7 separate regions of the Homo sapiens genome follow, and regions 1, 2, 3, 4, 6 and 7 are each linked to region 5. The links are contacts of gene promoters, found by promoter capture Hi-C in blood cells and fetal thymus (Javierre and others, 2016). All regions are on one chromosome and are shown on one strand. Each heading gives the region's core, a stretch centred on a gene start or on the middle of the fragment in contact. The rest is flanking DNA. Distances are from core to core; before and after follow the strand shown.

Region 1 (2,836 bases), core at 79-2,578, 320 kb before region 5:
GGGGGGCGGGTGAAGGGGCTAAACTGCACTTGACTACAAAGGGTGGGGAATTATTATGGTTTTCTCTTCCGCTATTTCCCTACACTTTCCCTCCAGCATGCTTTTATCTTTCACTTGGATTTCTCACAATCATCATTTTACCTTTGCCAATTCTTTGTGCCCTGCAAGGGTTCCTCATCATACATGAAACCATCTCTAATTCCCTAAGGCTTCCTCCTCGGAAATTTTGAATTGACTTAGGCACTTAGCAGACTAGTTCTCACATTATAATTATGAAAGCAGAGGTACCTCCACCTACCTTCCATCCCCAGTGTCATGTACATGACGGACATAAACTTTCACTAAACAACAAACAGTTGAATCTGCCATCACAGTAATGCATTAGTCTATAAATTAATCACTGGTTGGTCTTCCTTTCTTCCCCTATAGTGGAAACTGGATGTAAACCAAAGTGATTTCACAGGTAATATTTTTCAAACTCAGAGACAAAGGAAAACTGTAGTGGAAAAACTGTGTTTCCAGAAGGTTTTTTAAAAGATATTTTTGACAGTTTATGACTTTCTGCTGGGAGAATGACATTTACTGTTTCTGACTGTCTTAAATGTGCATTTATCAGATGTTGTGCGTTTAGACAACATTTGCATGATGATTTGCGTTAGCTTAAGTGGAAGCAACATAGACTTACTTGAATTTGTGATATTTTGGAAACCTGTTCATTTTATAGATGGGGAGCTAAAGGGTAAAAGAGTTGGTCTTAGAATCTAGCTTAATGGTTCTCAACTTTCTCAATACATTAAAGGGAGGTGACATGATCACAACAACAACGGGGTTTATTGTAGCCAAGGAAGTTGGCCACCCTGTAAGATTCACCGTCTGGTTACTTCTAGTTAGCAACAAGAGGGCTCAAGACCACGCAGGCAGGAAACTGATAGAAGCACCATGACTGAAAGTCGAGCCTCTTCCCAGTCCATTGCCCCATCATTTATGCCATGTGGAAATTGCTCTGCCAAAGATAAAGTGTTGACTACAGTCTAAGTGATGGGCAGAAAAACCATCACTCAACTCATAATGGTGAGTTGTACTGAGAATATGCTGTCTTAGGTTTAAAGTAGCATATTTAAGAGCAGAATCTTCAGATGACACAAACTCAAACACGCTTCTGTTACGAATGTATAAATCAGTTGGAGGAAAGTAAGGCCACCTCTTTCAAATACTTTGCTCAATTTCAAATTTATTGTTTTTTAAGATTAAAAGGTTGTAAAATACTTCCTCTTCCCCAACGCTTTATCTCTGCAAGGTTAAGAATTGTATTGAGGGTTTACAAATAGGAGCTTGGTAGATTATTTTCTAATTCTCAGATGATTTTTTTCTGATTTGTGAGCTATGGGTCAGTGTCCAGATTGACTATGTCCTACTGTGACCTAGAATCAAACATTGGAGTCCAACAGCATCACTCACTCCCTGCTTATTAGCAACCTAATTACCTAAAAAAAGAAAAAAAAAAAAAAAAAAAAACTGGAGAGACAGGCTGCCAGCTGTCAGGAATACCTTTTAACATTTTTTTCTCCTAAACCTGCAACGAGGCACTACCCAAAGCAAAGAACTTTAAAACACCAGTACTGAGAAACTGTGACTGTTGCTAGAGGATTTTGCATAGCAAACCCAAAAAACCATCTTTTGAAACTAAATTATACTCAACGACAGAAAGACATGTTTCCCCTTTTATGAGCTCCAAGTTTTAGTACTGGCCTGTTAAGTGTTTCTTCATAGGTAAATATTCGGATTTAATTCTATGCTTTTATTCTTACCTGTGTTACACTGATGTGAAAATCTGAAAAATACATGAGACAAATATAAAAAAGTGATTCAGAAGAAAGTAGGCATTTGTTTTTATACTTGGCAACTGCAGTTGAGAAGGGGGTGTATTTTATCAAAGTAAATTTCAACTGAGAAGAATGATCTTCATGCCAATCTTTATAAAAATCAAAGTTTTTTTCTTTCAAACACCTCAGTCCTCCTAATCAGTTTCATATGTTGTGTTAGTGTTATGTTCAAGGACAGGCAGTCAGAAAGCCTTCTGCTCTGATGTGCAGTCGGGGGAAAGGTGATGGTCTAACGTTGAAATTCCTAGTGATCTAAATATTTAGAGTGTGAAGTAGTTTGTAATTATTCGGAGTACATGACTGGCATGGATACTTGAGCCAGTTCATTTTTTCATAAAGGGTACATGGCACCAAACAAGCATGTCATCTCTTGTAACTGACAAATACATTCCACAAAACAGCAACATGTCAATGGTATGAAACGCTACAGCGGTCATGTGGTTTCATGTGGATGTTATACAGCTGACCTTGTATCATTAACCTTTATGGTTAGGTATTAACCTTTGAAACACTTAAGAAAAAATGATGTATGAGTTTTAAGGTTATCCTGTCTCTGCCTTTTCACATTATTAATATGGGCAGCTAATAACATTTAAAATAGAAAAATTGCCTGGGAGAAAAAAATGTAGCCATCTATAACCCTCAGTCAAACTAAAATTGAAGTGACATTTCAAGTTTGAATAGGATAGTTAAATGTTTATTTTGAAAATATTTCATAAATTATAGTCCATGTTTGATCAGTTAGGAAATAAGTCAGATTTAAATTCATACCTTCCAATTACTAGAGAAAACCTGAAATACGTAATTCTTATAACAATTATTCTTTCAAAAAGCACAAATTATGGAGATGAATATCAATCAAAAGTAATATAGTATAATCTAAGGTGGGGGAGGAAAAGAATGTGGTTTGTCTATATTCCAGGAGAAGAGAATCAAGTCAAAATGAGATCTGA
Region 2 (2,845 bases), core at 182-2,681, 290 kb before region 5:
ATTCTTCAATTTATATAACACTTTGCTTAGGCAAGGCAGGATATGAAACAAAATAACACACAACTCACAATGATAAAACAACCAGAAATCCCTGTGGAGGAGTGGGGAATACCCTAAAACTAAGCATATGTGCTTCATATTTTCCCCTTTCCTCTCACCAAAAAATAAGGGCCAAGAGTTTGTTTTTGGAACATCCTGATACTTCTTTTTTACAAAATTCAATTATACTTTGTAATTTCCCAAATGAATGGTTCATAAAAAAGTGAGATGATCCTGTAATAGCTTCTGCCATTAACTAAAGTACTAGTATTCCCTTTTTCCCAATAAAGACTCAGACATTTCCTAAAAAATCATTTCCCAGAATATTTATTTTGAGTCATGTTTCCGTATTAGTGTTCTCAAATTAGTGCACAGCCATTCCAGGGCAATAGCTCCCACCTGTAAGCCCTGGACGAGTGTGTCCGACAGCACGGGGAGCTGTTCCACACCTGTGTCCCACTAGCCTGCCTTCACTTCCTTCCCTGAGAGACTTCATGAGCAACAGGTAACTGTGGACCACAGCAGCCATCAAAGAGTCCCACTGGGAGATGTGGGCCCTTCACCCACGACCACGGGAAAGCTGGAGACAATCATTGTCTACATTGTTTCCTCCTCATTTAGTTGGCCGTTTTGAGAAGAAAAGCAATTGAATACTGAAGGTCTCACTGGTTTCATCATAAATCTAGGGCTTTACTTTTGAGCAAAATGAAAAGTAGATGAATAGGACATCAAGAGAGCCCTGCTTGGTGCGCATTTGAACCTGAAACATAACACGGGGGGCTGCCCCTCTATGATGTGTTAAGACTGCAACACGGGCACTTCCTGGTGGTACCACATATTCAAGTTCTTTTATTATGGGTCCCTCCAACTTTTTGTACCTATTAGCACTACTGCTTTTAAATGAAAATGACTCAAAGAGCCTGTGGAGTATTTGCTTAGGAGCAAAAGTGCAATTATTTGGGATACCTTCTCATAAAGGAGGCAAAATCATATTTTAATATTTTGTGCAACTAGAGGATTAAGTAGTTTATATAATGATTGCATCATAAATGTTGGTCTTGCTCTTCTGGGAAGCCAGAAACAAAATGTGAATTTTCAGCATTATGTGTACACTGCCTCTCATCTACCTAAATTGCTTTTGACTCCTGGTATGAACTGATTTTTTTTCTTTTGACGTTTTGCCTTCTTGGGTGTCTCTTTCGTGATTTCTAGAATAAGCAAGAGACACTTAAGGAAAAATAAATCCTCATCTAACTACCTTTTCAGCTTCTTAGTAAGTTTCTCATTTTCCTCCTCCTCTTTCTCTCTCTCTCCCCCTGCCTTCCTTTTGAGCTAGAATTGTATGTTCAGTGGTCAGTTGACCACCATGGCAGGTCATTCGTTGGGAAGCACGTCCTTATTATTGCCCTACCAAATGCTGGCTGTCCCAAAATCACTGAGAGGCAGTGTTCCAAAATTCTTTCATTCAGTATTGGAAATACCTTTCCCATAGAAATAGTGTTGTAAATGGTGATCAGGTGCTTAAACTGATCACGGTTGACTCCCAAAGCCAATTTACTCCAGAATATAAGTGAATTATAATACTAGTTACACTGGCCTGACCTCAGAGTCCGTGGGGCTAGAGCCAAGCAGGTGCAGGAAGTGGGGATGGGGCTGAGCAGTTGGCCTGACACTCTGCATCACTTCACTCTAGACGTCACCCCTTAGCTGCCCAGAACCTTCCCAAGGCCCAGACCAGTGGCCCTTAACATGCCGCATGCTCACTCCAGAATTCCCAGCTGACTTCCTTCTTCAAGATCCTACTTCTCCCCCGTCTCCCCCAGCACCACAGAGATAAGCACTTAACATCCGTGGTGCTTATGCTTCAAGTTGAAGTTAAGTGAGTAGCAGAGGGGTATGGCTGAGAGAGGAACACATACATGGATGTACTTCACTGGAAATGTTCTAGCCCTTGGGTTGGGTAATGGTTTCCCAGGTGTTCATTCTATTGTTATACTTTATAACTTCCATATGTCATACTATTACATGGTTCAACTATTGGCGAAATCATAATTTAAAAAATAAAAAGTAGAGGAGAGAAGAGGTGAATGTGGCCAAAACCAAAATGTCATATATCATGGGAAAGGCAGATCTATTGCAAAGTGTGAACACGCAGACCTGAGGAGCCAGGGCTGCCAACTGTTTTAAATACCAAAATCACCTGTAGTATTACAAAATTCTGTGGACCATTCCATGTAATAATAGTTATCTTTTTAGTTTTCATTGAGAAAATAGGTATGGAAATAAAGCTATATACTTTTAGATGTTATGGATTGTAACATATACCTATGTTTGATAAACAATAAGTATATAGATGAAATTTGTGGGCATTGATAGTATTTATTATTATTATTATTTTTGAGATGGACTCTTGTTCTGTTACCCAGGCTGGAGTGCAGTGGCACAATCTCAGTTCATCGCAACCTCTGCCTCCCGGGTTCAAGCAATTCTCCTGCCTCAGCCTCCCAAGTAGCTAGGATTACAGGCACCCACCACCACGCCCAGCTAATTTTTTGTATTTTTTAGTAGAGATGGGGTTTCACCATGTTGGCCAGGCTGGTCTTGAACTCCTGACCCCAAGTGATCTGCCCACCTCAGCCTCCCAAAGTGCTTGGATTACAGGTGTGAGCTACCATGCCTGACCAGTAAACATTAATAGTGTTTGAAATTAAGATAAGAAAGTAAACATTTGGGAGATGTGTTCTGACTGAGGGAACCCTGAGGAGTGACCACTGGAGTCAGCTCACGGAGGCTGTTCTGTTACGCC
Region 3 (2,700 bases), core at 156-2,655, 340 kb before region 5:
TGGAATCATCTGTAATTCTGCTCTTCACAAATTGGAGGGCACAAACTTTGTAATGACACCTGGCAGGAAGGATGTTTTGTTATTGTGAACTGATCAAAAAGGAAGGTTTGTGCAACATAAAGGGAAGGAACCAATTAGCTAAATACTAGACTAAGAAAGCTTTATTTGTACAGAGAAAGTTCTTTCATTTTTTTTTCCTCCAAAATGTTGAATCCTGCCAGTTAGGAGCCTTACTCCTTTCTCTGTCTTTCATGGACTACATTATTGTTTTCAAAAAGACGTTCTTTAGACTTGTTTCTTGTGGAATAGATTATTTAAATTGATTTATTAACTTCCATTAGGGGCTAATGTGACTTCAAATGAGTCTGCCCTTTTCAACCCTGATGTAGAATTCCTGTTCCTCCTTTTCACACACTTATAAGGTCCCAGAGCTACTGAATACCAATGCTAGGGTCAAGTTCTCTTTTTAACAAATACACACATCCTTGGTCTTGAGTTGACACCTCTGCCTCCCCATCCTCACACTCAGGCATCTGCAAGCCTCAAGAAGCATCTGGGGGCAGGGGGCTGCCACTAACAAGACACATTTGGAAAGCACTAACTTAGTTTTGACTCATGGACATTATTCTGTAACCTTTATATTCTCTTACTACTCTCTTGTGAACTCTCAAAGTGAGCATTCACCAATGCCAGTAGTAAAGGCATTAGCTTCCTCCTTCTACATGCTGCCCAGGGATTCTGTCATCCTTGTTGGGATGGGAGTGTGTTTCCTGCCACCCGTCACACTGGGACTCTTGGTAAAAATATTTGTTAAAGGAGGAGATGAATCATGCTTTCCTAGATGTTAGCTTTGCAGTAGTCTCCTTCATCGGTTTGTTAATGAATTAGTCATAGCGATATCTGTCACACCCATATAGGTACAATTTACACAAAATGAATCATTGCAAAATATAGTCTGTATAATTTCTATTTAGAATGTAGATGCTATTCTCAAAGGACATCAATTTCACAAGAAGCTTGGTTTAAGTAGCTTTCCTTTGACTACTTTGTAGAAGCTTGGAATTGGTTAGGGTTTGGATATTTATCATGACATGGGTTAGGACTCAACATTTACACAAGATTTAAACTTACTAAGTCACTTTCTGCTTCTTATTTTATGAATTCAGATGTTCTGTTTTGCCTATATTGATATTTGAGGAAACGAATGTAACCAGTTTTCAAAAGAGAAGTATTTTTTCTTTCATTTAATGTTAGATATGCATAAAGATAATTTCGTAAAAAATATCCAATTTAAAGAATAATTTTTCATTTAACACCCATATAACATCTCCTTGCTCAATCACAACCCAACTTGGTTCATCTTCTCCTGGAAACCACCATTCTTCTTAGTTTTGTTAATATTATTGCTTGCTAGTCTTTCTTTTTTTAAAAATAAAAGACACATTTATTCAGCTTCATGATCAGACTATTACATTTAGCAATTGATAGCATGGGTGCAGACAAACCACTGTATTAAAACCCTTGGCTGGAATGCTTTATACTTTCCACAGAACAGAAATTAAAATAACCTGTTATATAACTAATCACAAATATGGTCCTTAACTCTTTTGCCCATACACGGGAGTATTGTATAAAACATGTCTTCTTTGTAGCAGCTAGGCCCTGTGCCACCACTGTGCTTTGCTGAGTTCACAAACCTGTTGCAACCTATAGCTTCCCTGTCACTTCTCTGGCTCTACTCTCCTACTAAGCTTTGTTTCCTGGCAGTAATTAAAATCTTCTGCCAGTGCCATAGCTAGTGCTACCCCTATAGCCTCCTTGGTTTTGTGGTTTGGCAAAGTACTGGCTTCCACCATCATAGGAACCAGAGCTTTTGCCTCCAAAGTTTTTTCCCTTCATGGATCAAAAATTTGAAGACCGGTGGTTTTAATTGCCAAAATCATTGTAGCTTCCACCACCTCCAGTGTTGCTCCCATCATTACCAAATTCATTATAGCCACCCCCACTGCTACCATATCCTCCACCACCACAGCTGCCACTAAAGCCACCATGACCACTGAAGTTTTCTCCATAACCAAAGATGTCGTTCCCACCAAAACCACCTCCATGGCCACCACGAAAGTTTCCAGAACTACTATGTCCTCTTTGGCTGGATGAAGCACTAGCCATCTCTTGCTTTGACAGGGCTTTCCTACCTTCACAGTTGTGGTCATTTGCAGTGTGGTATTTCTGAACGACAGTCTTATCCACAGAGTCATGGTTGTCAAAGGTTACAAAGGCAAAGCCCCTTTTCTTGCCACTGCCTCGGTCAGTCATGATTTCAATCACTTCCATTTTTCCATACTGTTGAAAATAATCTCTTAGGTGATGTTCTTCTGTGTCTTCTTTAATGCCAGCAACAAATGTCTTTTTCACAGTTGAGTGGGCACCTGGTCTTTGAGAATCTTCTTAGACAGCTCTCTTTGGTTCCACAACTCTTCATCCACCTTGTGTGGCCTTGCATTCATGGCTGCATCTGCCTCCTCCACGGTGGCATATGAGACAAACCCAAAGCCTCTGGAATACCTGGTGTTTGGATCTCATTACCACACAGTTCTTGAGCGTTCCCCATTGCTCAAAATGATTCCTCAGGCACTTATCGGTGGTTTCAAAGCCCAACCCTCTGATGAGGAGCTTCCACAGCTGTTCAGGCCCTTTGAG
Region 4 (2,830 bases), core at 4-2,503, 470 kb before region 5:
AGTGGTAATCTTAATACTTAAATGATTATTACAGTGTTTTATTTCTTTCTCATGTGACCTTTCTCCTCTAAATTTGATTAGGTTGACCATCTTTTTATTGTTAAAAGTTCATACAAAGAGAAAGTGAATTAGAAGTCCTGGTAATATGATTTTTAGTCCATGGATTCAGAAACAATATTTTTTTTTTCAAAAAACAACACACAAAGCTCTTAAAATTTAACAGTGTTTGAGATCCCATTGTGCCTGCTTGCTTTTTGTGTAAAGCATAAAGAGAATTTTAAAGAGTGCCTTTTCCAATGATCTCAAATAAGAATAGCTCATTGGCATGTGAAATACGAAATAAATGTTCTACTAATGAACAATTTGTATTTTAAGGTCAGTTTCTGTATAAAATAAATGAGTATTTTTCTCATTTGTTTTGCTTTTTAAAGGGGAATGTGATTTAAAGGCCAGGACCATGGCCAGAATCTGATGTTTTAAAATCTCAAGCCAGCTCTATGCCTGTGCATTTTTCCCCAGATTAAGATTGAATTATGCTTTGAGGATAACACCTTCCACTGGATTGCTTTTCACTTGTCTCTATTTTTGGATTCAGAGTACAAGATATAAAGCAAGGGTGGCAGTCTGTGGCCTTTGGCTATATGCACAGCCTTCCGAAATAATTCCAAAGATGTGTAGAAATAGCAGAATAACACCATGATTAAAAGTAACAGCCACTGATAAATGTAAAAGAGAAAACTATTTTTAAAATAAATAGATATTAAATTTTAGAGAATAATTCATTGGATATATTTGTTAACTCAACACTCTGCCTCATGTCATTATTGGTTGGGACATGAGAAAAAGACAACCTTTTCGGGTTGTAATTGGATTACAAGTATTATATCAAACTGATAAAGCAGAGTACTGAATATTGAAAGCGTATGTTTTGTTTTATTTCTTTTTTTTTTTTTTTTTGAGACGGAGTCTCGCTCTTGTTTCCCAGGCTAGAGTACAGTGGCGTGATCTTGGCTCACTGCAACCTCCGCCTCCCAGGTTCAAGGAATTCTCCTTCCTCAGCCTCCCAGCTAGCTGGGATTACAGGTGTGCATCTGGCTAGTTTTTGTATTTTTAGTAGGGATGGGATTTCACCACGTTGGCCAGGCTCGTCTTGAACTCCTGACCTCGTGATCTGCCCGCCTCGACCTTCCAAAGTTCTGGGATTACAGGGGTGAGCCACGGCCTGTTTTGTTTTATTTCTTAGGGAATCCTGAGAAAGCACTTTTTGAAAACAGCAGATACCACTGCGGCCCCACCCCCTTCCTCTTGATAGCTGTGAGCAGATAAATGACTGTGGTGCCGATCTCACTGTATTTGCTTTCTGATCACTTACAGGGATAGTGACTTCTGTTAGATAATTTTGAAATTGGAATCAGACCATATCTAATGTATCTTTGTGGCCCCTGGGCTGTGATATTAGGTCATACCATCCCCTTGGAGTTCCTCTGTGTGCCCCGGCAGCTCAGCCTCCTATCATGGCATGTTCTGGAGTTTCTTCCCTCTCATAGAAGGTTCTAGGAATTTTTTTTTCACAGTCATGGATTGTTCCAGTACATTGAAACAAGGCTCAGAGCCTTATAGGAAAGAACTTGAAATCAGGTCAGAATTGGAATTCAGAGATGTATGGGATACAGACGGATTTGAGGGGTCCTGGAACGATGTTGGATAATAGGGAGGAACAACAAACTACTGAAGGAAAAGTACCAAGAGAGAACACTTCTGGGCCAGAATGTCTTGGACAAACATTTCCTCATCCTCCTGGGAGGGCCCCTACACTTGAGGAAGAAGGAGCTTTGGCAAAAAGAAATGAAAGAACTTTATCATCAGAAGCCCAACAGTTTTGCAGTATTGAAGAGCTGTTCAAGAGAGGTAGGGACTTCCTCTCTTGAGGACTGGGTTTCACGCTAAGCAAGTGAGTGAGGACTTCAAACGCTGAGATTCAGATTTTTGTATTAGTAATTCATGGTATAGTCCCAGTTACTCGGGAGGCTGAAGCCCGAGAATCTCTTGATCCCGGGAGAAGTATGTTACAGTGAGCCGAGATTGCACCACTGAACTCCAGCCTGGGTGACAAAGAGAGACTCCATTTCAAAAAAAAAAAAAAAATTCATGGTAATACGGTTTTATTCACAATAAAGTCACAAATCAGTTCATTCAGATTTCACGTATTTTTTCTAAAACGTTCAAGTCTTTAGTTTCAGTTTTGTGTTTAGAGGGAGAACTCAGAAGTGCTCCTGTGACTGAGTAAAGCTGTTGGTTTCCAGGTGAGCCCAGAGGAATTGTGGAGAGTAAATAAGGTGTGCAGCTTGGGCCTCAGCTATGTTCTCCCTAGGATTCAGACTTGTCTGGGCATGTCTGGATAATTTGACAGTCATGCCCGTCCAGAGTCTTCTGCTTGAGGGCTGGGATGATCATCACAGGACAAAGCTCATCTTAAGGAAAGCAAGAATTTGAGCCACATCCGAGGGTAGCGGCTACCACGGGGAGGGACAACACTGAAAATAGCATGACGTATGTTCTCCAGATTTTCTGTTGCGCCAGCCCCATGGATTCATGCCTGGAGATAGGGAGAGAGGACTGCCATAAAAAAAGCAGTGTGAAAATTTAAAGAGTAATGTTACTAAAATTTCTTTAGGACATTGAAAGCAAATTCTGCATAACAGGATGTACAGACTTGGGGAAGCAGTGTCCCTATTGGAGGTGCTATGGAAGCACGGTGTGAAAGGGCATAATGAACTAGATTTTATCCAGTGTGGTTTTATTGATGGTAGAATGAATGAGATTTTGTCTT
Region 5 (2,808 bases), core at 54-2,553:
TATCTTGATATAATTTGACTCTCTAAAATGTGCATAAAAAACAAAATCCGAATTAACAGAGGTTTCCGATTATAGTACCATCTCACTTATCTCTTTAGAGAGAACGTGCTGTTTCATGTAGTATTCAGATCACTGAAGCATCGGTTTAAGATCAAGATTTATTTAACCATTTTAAAGGAGAATTTTCCACTATGAACATTAGGTAAATACTTTAAACAGCAGGAGAATATGACTTTGCCTGTTCTTGATAATTTGGGACTATTACTGGGAATATCAATGACTATACAGTGTTGTAACAGTGTATTCTCAGAGTATTAAAGGGCATTCGGATATAAAACTATATTAAATGGGCCGGGTGCGGTGGCTCACACCTATAATGCCAGCACTTTGGGAGGCAGAGGCGGGTGGATCACAAGGTTAGGAGTTCAAGACCAGCCTGGCCAAGATGGTGAAACCCCATTTCTACTAAAAATACAATTACAGGCAGGCGCCTGTAATCCCAACTACTCAGGAGGCTGAGGCAGGAGAATCACTTGAACTTGGGGAGTAGAGGTTGCAGTGAACCGAGATCATGCCACTGCACTCCAGCCTGGGCGGCAAAGTGAGACTCCGTCTCAAAACAAACAAACAAACAAACCTATATTAAATGGTCCCAGATGCAATAGTTTTTAATGTTCTTTGTCACCTCACTCCTTCTAAGTTATTAATTCTAGTCATCCCAAATCCTTTCCATAATGAAATACAATAAATTGAGAGTGCGCCTAGGCCCTGCAAGTCTCTTCTAATTTTACCCTCCCCCGCACAACACACACACACACACACACACACACACACACACACGGGGATCTTATCCAAATGTGGATTCTGATTCAAGGTGAAGGGTGGGGCCTGAGATTCTGCATTCCTCACAAGCTCCCAGATAGTGCAGATGCTGCTGGTCCATGAGCCACATTTTCAGTAATAAGGGGCTAGAAAATGAGAGAGCCAGGCTTATTAAAATTATATATAAAATGAGATAAAATTAGCTCCGAGAGAGTGCCTAGGTGATCTTGCTTTATGGAATTTGTGACATCGGTGTGGCTGCTAAGAACCTTCTTAAAAGTCTGCAGTTTCAGATAAAGGAGCTGTCACTGCCGTTGTAGTCCTTTTACTTAAAGTTTTACTCTACAGAGGCACTTGCTCACACTTTGCAAGGAAAGGATCCTGCTGCCCCATTTTTTACTTACGCTAGTTCTGTGGGAATTAGAGGTAAACACCTCCCTTGAACGTGAGTTCTCATAGTATAAGCGATGTCCGTTGGAGAGCCTGATGATGTCCCACCACGATGCAACGGCTCTCCTGGCTGGGGCTAGTGGAAGCAGTTTTGATGGAAGTTAAGGTTGGTCAGAAATTAAGAACATAAATGGGACCTGCGTTACTTCGTCACTCTGTCTCTTTTTTTTTTTTTTTTTTTTGTGATGTTATGGTTTCAACAGTTTCAAAGTGCTTTCATCCTTATTAAAAACGTCCTAGTGAGGTCAGTAGGACAAGAATCACTATTCATCATTCTAAGTGAGAAAGTGAGACCTGGGGAAAGGTTTCTTGCCTAAAGCCACTCAGCAAGTTGGTGCTATTTTGGATTCCAGCCCTGTGTTCACTCTACAGTGGCACTGAGAGAGCCCCCACGAGGCCTTCTGCGTCCATTCATACCCTTTCCAGTGCGTTTCCGTCTTCCAAAGATGAGCTGGAGCTCCACAGCCACAGTTAGTAGAATGACCTGTCGGGGTACCTGGGGTCTCTCATAGTTTCCAGGTCACTCAGGGGATCTCCGGTGTCAGTGACTACTGCAGAGCCAGGCCCCGGCAAAATGGCTCTGGGATGGGACGCCACCTGTGGGCCTCGCCACCATGGTTCCTTCGCACCTGAGTGCCCACCTCACGCTGGAGGTTTGGAACATCCGGACAACCCCTGCCCTCCAGACTCTGCCACACAACTTGGGAACACCCTGACAAGCCCGCAGCCAGCATCGTCCCATTCGCACCCCTCACGCTGCCTGCAGCCCTGGGGATTCATGCAATTGGGCACTGGCGCTGGGCAATAAAGAATTGTGGTGGGGCAGCCTGGTGCCAGGGAGCCAGTCGCCCACCTCGTAAAAAGGGAGTTCTGTGAGGAGCGTCTGGCAGGGAGCGGGCACAGGCCCCTGAATACCAGCCATTCAGCTGAAGGGAACGGGTCCAGCAGTTTTCACTTATGTTACCACAAACAGCAGATGCTAAAAATACACTGCGGTCTCGATACATCATTCAGAAAGCGACGGACCAGTTTTCCTTTTGTCAGCGGTCTGGGAGCCTGAAGCAGTCGGATGGGGCATTCCAGACACCGCCTGGCCTCCTTTGGTTTCCCCTCAGACTCTGACAGAGCTGAAGGTGCCAGCGCGAGAGCGCCCGAGGAGACCAGGAGAGAAGGTGGAGAGGCGGCAAGGCTCCCCAGGCTAAGGGAAGGCAAAGCGGAGTGGGGCGAGGAAGGGGCGGGGTGGCTCCTTCTGGAGGCCACAGAACAGCCTGGGACTCCCTGAGGCGACACCGGCCGCAGGCACCAGGCACTGGGGGCTAAGAGAAACCCCGAGACCCAGAAATCTCCTTCCTAAGGTCCAACTTGCCCCAAAAGTTGTTTTTTCTTTTTTTTTTTTCACTACTTGAGGTAAACACATACACAATTTTACAAAAAGCGCCATCACTTGTCCACAATCAGAGGACTCATTCGTCAGCTTCTATACAATCTGCGCTTGGTTTCTCCTTCTCAGTAAGCACTCAGGCAGTTCCACCACAC
Region 6 (2,700 bases), core at 11-2,510, 360 kb before region 5:
ACACACAAACAGAAGAAAATAATTCACTTAACTTTTTAATAACTATGGAGTATTACAAGATTAATGGATAATATTTAAGAAATTCAATGTTTTTGAACCTTTAAGCTAATATTTATTTTTGCTATTGAAATAACATTGTAATGAATACTTGCATCTACATCTTTGAACATATTCCAGAATTTATTGGAGGGGGATTCAACGAATGAGTCATTAAAACCATGATGTACTCGTTTAGTGTTGCATGCCAGCTACCAAATCAACCTCCCAAAAGGTAGTCTGCTTTTCTCTTTCCTAACTAATGACCCTAAGTGTCCTACAAGTGGAATACTATGGTTAAAACCTCCATGGATTAGAGAAAGTAAGTCAGGTAAAATGCTTAGCACAATTCCTGGTTCGTAGAACACATACGATAACTGTTAATATTAGCAACAGTTCTAGCAGTAGTAATTATTATTTTTGTTGTTAATGATTGTAACACTTCATGATTACATTTATTGATTTTTAGACAACATCGGGTTTCATGACATAAAAATGTGAAAACATTTTGGAAACAAGTAGACAAAAAATTGATACATTACTGCTTTATCAATATTTATTTGTTTACCAACAAGGTTGAACATTTGTTCATATATTTATAGGACATAGAAACTTGATGACTGTGACTTCCTATTTCTGTGACATCTGTTACCACAGTAACTAATGCAGTCAGTGGGAATATGTGAATTTCATGAGCCTGGCCCTCCAGCTTGCCAGTCGTGAGAGCCAGAGGGAATGGAGCAGCCTGAGGCTGTATCACCTGATGGCTGGATGCATCTGGCTGCTTATTCAGCTGTGGCTCCTTTATTTGGGACAGCTGTGAACGCGGCTCCAGGAGTTGCCTTCATGAAATGAAGCATATGATGACAACTGGAAGAAGAGGACGAGTACATATTGCTAAAGGTTTAATGGGGATAGTAATGGCCAAGTGGAAAAAAACCTGTGGGTGGGGATGAATTGGTGCTGACTGGTCATGCCACGAGGTCTGTATTTCAGGAAACCACTAATTGGGGCAGCTCCTCTGGAGAGGACTGGGCCTGAGTCAGATCTGCCCTGTGGATTGCAAGTCCTCTGTGAAGTTTGTGCTCTCAGGTGCATCAGAAGCAGACCCTCTCCACAGTGCTGGCTCCTCCTGATGGTAGAAAGCTTAGGCTTGTGTATCATGATGGTTTTTTGTCTTCCTCGATGGACATTTATTGAGTTTGGATAGTATGCTGTGGACATTAAGAGTATATAGATTCTGGAGTTAGGCTTCCTGGGTTCGAATCCTGGCTGTATTTCTTATTACCTGTGTAAGCTTGGGCAACCATTTAAGCTGTTTGTGCCTTGATCTTTTTTACTTCTAACACGGATGTGGTAATAATAATAATAATAATTCCCACACAGGGAGTTGAACAATGAGAACACATGGACACAGGGAGGGGAACATTGCACACCAGGGCCTGTCGGGGGGTGGGGTGGGGAGCTAGGGGAGGGACAGCATTAGGAGAAATACCCAATGTAGATGACCGGTTCATGGGTGCAGCAAACCACCATGGCACGTGTATACCTATGTAATAAACCTGCACATTCTGTACATGTGTTCCAGAACTTAAAGTATATTAATAAAAAAACTCCCACATAAGGTTTATATAGATTATTTGAGTTTATATATTTTATCTAATGTATAATACACATTTTCTACACCTGAAATTAGGATGTGTTTTACAATGGGCATTTTACAATTATAACTAACAGCAGTTTTACTTTCTTTTCGGTATGTAAATACTGATGCATCTTAGAATCAGTGGTGTTCTTGTATATGAAGAAATAGGGCATTTGTAAACATTAAAACATGGTTTGGCAATATAAAATTCTATTTTAGTGTTATCATTTGTTTGGTTTTGTGACTGAAACCAGATCCTAATGTCCCCATTAAACCAATAAGGCATATTTATTGCAAGCCGCTTATCCTTGTATTGTGAGAGCTCTTAACACAAAACTTCAGTAAGTCAGAACGTAGATCCACAGAGTGACGTGATTTTTCAGTTCTTTGGGGATTCAGGAATACATTATGTGACTTTCAAGATGAACTTTTCCGGTCACATTCATCTCTTGACCTACCAGGTCTCTGGTCTCTATTTTCTTTTAATGAACACTGGGATAACCCATTCCAAATTCCGGCCTCTCCTCACTTCCAGTGGTGATTCTTTTCCATTTCAGTCAGCTAATACTATCTGCATCTACATTCTGGCTCTTATATTTACTTAACACAGTTTTAGTTTTTTGTTTGTTTATTTTTGAGACGGAGTCTTGCTCTGTCGCCCAGGCTGGAGTGCAGTGGTGCAATCTCAGCTGGCTGCAAGCTTTGCCTCCCGGGTTCACGCCATTCTCCTGCCTCGGCCTCCCGAGTAGCTGGGACTACAGGTACCCGCCACCACGCCCAGCTATTTTTTTTGTATTTTTAGTAGAGACGGGGTTTCACCCTGTTAGCCAGGATGGTCTTGATCTCTTGACCTCATGATCTGCCTGCCTCGGTCTCCGAAAGTGCTGGGATTACAGGCGTGAGCCACCGCACCTGGCCTTTGAAAAGATAAATTATAACATTCCTGTTTCTACCTACCAACTTCTATCATTCTGGCTTTTTCCCACAGTTCTCCCAAACCACAGATCCCTTCTTCCTCA
Region 7 (2,821 bases), core at 56-2,555, 450 kb before region 5:
CATGACCGGGGATAAACTCATTTAGTCAGCAGCTGTGGCAGCCACAGCTGCAAAAGCGTAACATTTACACAGTGCTTTATCACCTGCAAAGCCCTTTCATCCACCTTATCTGTTTTTCACAACTGCACTGTGAGTTTGGTATTACTGTTATCTCATGTGTAGATTTAGAAGCCACTTTCCTAACTTAGTGACTTACTGCACAAAAAAGCCTTCAACCGTGAATTGTTAGAGATGGTTTTTAGAAAGAAATTTGGCACTTTTCAATAGGCTATAGCCAATCAGTCATGCTTGAGAAGTTAAACATTTAGAGATTTAGTATTACTGATGAAGCACATTCTTGATGAACTACATGAAAATAGGAAGGGCTCAGTCACTAAAACAGTGGGAGTTTTTACCAAAATTTCACCATACAAAGTTGGCCATTTAACAGACTTCATTCTTAATTTTTTTTTTTTTTTGAGACACCTGACTAATTTTTGTATTTTAGTAGAGACGAGGTTTCACCATGTTGACCAGGCTAGTCTTGAATTCCTGACCTCAAGTGATCTGCCCGCCTTGGCCTTCCGAAGTGCTGGGATTACAGGTGTGAGACACCATGCCCCACCTATTCTGAATTTTTTTAAGCTGTAATTTAGATATCCAAATTTGAGAAGGGTTCATTTGAAGACCAGACATAACTAATTTGTATAACCCCATTAGATATTTCCTTTAAATAATCTTCTACACATATTGTCTTAGTGCACTGGTACATCTAGGAAGAGTCTACCTTTCTTCAACTAGAACTAACCTTCAAGACTGAATTTTAAAAGGAAACTATTTTCCTAAATGATGATTGCTAACATTTCTTGACGGCTTACTATGCATCAGAAGCTTTCTATGTATTATCTCTAAACTTTACAAGAGTCTTTGAGAGAGGTTATTTCCTCCATTTTATGGAAGACAAAAATTAGGTGACCTTCTTAAGCTGAGTAAGTGATTCACAGTAAGTGATGGATCAGGGATTCAAACTCTGCATTCTACCGCATCATTTGGCCTCCCTAGATGTAATGTTCTAAGGCATTATGTTATTTCACAGAGAGGGGCTGGTGGAAAAACTCAGTCGCTTTAAATTGTTTAAGCATTCCATGATAGAGTAGACATGGATGCGAGAAGGGATTTTATACATTCCAGGAATATAACTTCATTTGAATTGCCTCTGATTTCAAAGAAATCAAAACCTCAGTGGAGGGGAGTGGCACATAGTATCTTTAACATTTGCCCTTGTGCCAAACAAGGCTCTATGATTTGTTTCCCGTTCCAAATTAAAAAAAAAAATGCAGAAAAATGAAAAGCATTTTTTTCATCTAGTATTGAATTGATCCCATGCAAAAAAGAAAACAAAATCCAAAATTAAGGAGCACAAAGGAGTGCTATTTAGTGTCTGATTTGTGAGATTTCCTCCCTCTCCTTCCAGACTTTGTGGATCAGTTTCTGAAAATGAAAGGAATAATCTCAGATATTTTTATTGAAAAGAACACAGATTATTAGATACCAAATACATTCTAGAAGATTAATGCAATATTTGTATATGCTGATGGTGAAGACCAAGGGCTTTCCTACTCCGATGACTCAACCCTGGCTACACATTAGGATCACTTTGGGAGAGCTTTAAAGCAATCCCAATGCTCAGTCCCAAGCAGTAATTTAAGAAGGTCATGCAGCTGCCGCCTCTGCTGAATGGCAGGGCCATGGGAAGCTTTACTGATAAAGGCACAAAATGGCAAGGGGGGTGAAATGTACAGAGGGTCCTACTCATTGATCAGAAGTAGCCCGGAGAGGCTATAACAGCACAGCAAGACGCTGACCAGACCCCCTTCTCACTTTTATGTCTCAGAACTTTTCTACAGTGAATGTCAATGTGTTTTTTTCCTCCACATAACATCTGTTTCCTTTTTGTCTTTAACATCACCTCACTTTTCTTTTGAAAAGCCACGTCTCACCCTTTGCACTCTGCATGGTTAGGATGAAGCTGATCTATTGGATCTAGAGATGATCCTCAACCCAGGACTGAATGATAATTCACGTCACCTGGTCACTGTGATCTGTTTATGGACGGGCACATTTTCTAAGTTATACTCTAGAGAGTAGTTCCCCAGTCCTTTGCTGGAATAGTTGGGACACTGTCTTAGTAGCTATGGTTACTGAGCTGGAAGAATCTAATTGTGAAGTTGTAATGATTATCTTTGATACCATGAGGGGAGAACAGAATCGAGAGATGTAGAGAGATTCCTTATATCATTTGAGCTCCATGCCTGTAATCCTGGACTTTTTGGTTATATGAACAAATTCTATTCTGCCTAAGCCAGTTTAGTTGGATTTCTGCCACTTGTAATACAAGAAGTTCTAACTAAGAAACTTTACGTAGTGGAGCCAAAAGGCCAAATGGAGGAAGCAATGTGCTGATGTTGGAGTGAGGAATTCATGGAAGGGACGTTCATGTCTTGGAAAACTTAATCTGTGTTAAAACATGCATTCTATAAAATAGCTAGCTGTTTGATCAACAACCCTCACTATATAACCTGTACCCCCATACCATATGTTAGACTTAATTTTTCCTCAATATTCTTGGTTTTAGGGTGAAATAGATTCTAGGCCTTGTATTTATCTTTTGAGGACATATTTATTACTTAATATGCTATGATACTACTTTGGGGAACTATTGCCACAGATAGTGAGTCTTAGCTTAGTGCCATGTATTCATTCAACAAACATTGTTTGAACCAAGTCTGTATACTATATAGTGCAGTAGGCTTTGAATGCCAGATTCAGGAGTATTTACCTA

Evidence for each region. Contacts are between HindIII fragments. The CHiCAGO score rates a contact against its expected background, and 5 or more counts as called.
Region 1: a fragment that was not itself captured here is called in contact with the fragment with the promoter of SCG5-AS1 in region 5 in 9 of 17 cell types (M2 macrophages, megakaryocytes, naive B cells and 6 more); the score reaches 26.6 in M2 macrophages.
Region 2: a contact is called between a fragment that was not itself captured here and the fragment with the promoter of SCG5-AS1 in region 5, in 8 of 17 cell types (M2 macrophages, M0 macrophages, M1 macrophages and 5 more). The highest score is 21.7, in M2 macrophages.
Region 3: a fragment that was not itself captured here is called in contact with the fragment with the promoter of SCG5-AS1 in region 5 in 7 of 17 cell types (endothelial precursors, megakaryocytes, naive B cells and 4 more); the score reaches 10.2 in endothelial precursors.
Region 4: a contact is called between a fragment that was not itself captured here and the fragment with the promoter of SCG5-AS1 in region 5, in 2 of 17 cell types (M2 macrophages and M1 macrophages). The highest score is 6.8, in M2 macrophages.
Region 6: a fragment that was not itself captured here is called in contact with the fragment with the promoter of SCG5-AS1 in region 5 in 4 of 17 cell types (M1 macrophages, M2 macrophages, naive B cells and 1 more); the score reaches 7.1 in M1 macrophages.
Region 7: a contact is called between a fragment that was not itself captured here and the fragment with the promoter of SCG5-AS1 in region 5, in 1 of 17 cell types (M2 macrophages). The highest score is 6.2, in M2 macrophages.

What each region holds. Positions count from the first base shown.
Region 1 is chr15:32,986,729-32,989,564 of GRCh38, reverse strand. The region is part of intron 7 of FMN1 (formin 1); the gene reads left to right. Among named protein-coding and RNA genes, the nearest start is that of FMN1, 210 kb to the left of the region's middle. The HindIII fragment of the contact is 3,894 bases long and covers 1-2,836 here.
Region 2 is chr15:32,964,993-32,967,837 of GRCh38, reverse strand. All of the region lies in intron 8 of FMN1 (formin 1), which reads left to right. Among named protein-coding and RNA genes, the nearest start is that of FMN1, 230 kb to the left of the region's middle. The HindIII fragment of the contact is 4,024 bases long and covers 1-2,845 here.
Region 3 is chr15:33,012,139-33,014,838 of GRCh38, reverse strand. The region is part of intron 6 of FMN1 (formin 1); the gene reads left to right. It also overlaps the pseudogene HNRNPA1P71. Among named protein-coding and RNA genes, the nearest start is that of FMN1, 180 kb to the left of the region's middle. The HindIII fragment of the contact is 696 bases long and covers 1,058-1,753 here.
Region 4 is chr15:33,145,293-33,148,122 of GRCh38, reverse strand. All of the region lies in intron 4 of FMN1 (formin 1), which reads left to right. Among named protein-coding and RNA genes, the nearest start is that of FMN1, 48 kb to the left of the region's middle. RefSeq lists an enhancer at 1,604-2,803. The HindIII fragment of the contact is 6,024 bases long and covers 1-2,830 here.
Region 5 is chr15:32,671,560-32,674,367 of GRCh38, reverse strand. SCG5-AS1 (SCG5 antisense RNA 1) reads left to right here and starts at 1,303. Exons shown (of 4, transcript NR_135505.1): 1 at 1,303-1,378. The region is part of intron 10 of ARHGAP11A-SCG5 (ARHGAP11A-SCG5 readthrough); the gene reads right to left. The region is part of intron 2 of SCG5 (secretogranin V); the gene reads right to left. The HindIII fragment of the contact is 5,358 bases long and covers 1-2,808 here.
Region 6 is chr15:33,029,775-33,032,474 of GRCh38, reverse strand. The region is part of intron 6 of FMN1 (formin 1); the gene reads left to right. Among named protein-coding and RNA genes, the nearest start is that of FMN1, 160 kb to the left of the region's middle. The HindIII fragment of the contact is 151 bases long and covers 1,185-1,335 here.
Region 7 is chr15:33,123,342-33,126,162 of GRCh38, reverse strand. All of the region lies in intron 4 of FMN1 (formin 1), which reads left to right. Among named protein-coding and RNA genes, the nearest start is that of FMN1, 70 kb to the left of the region's middle. The HindIII fragment of the contact is 865 bases long and covers 873-1,737 here.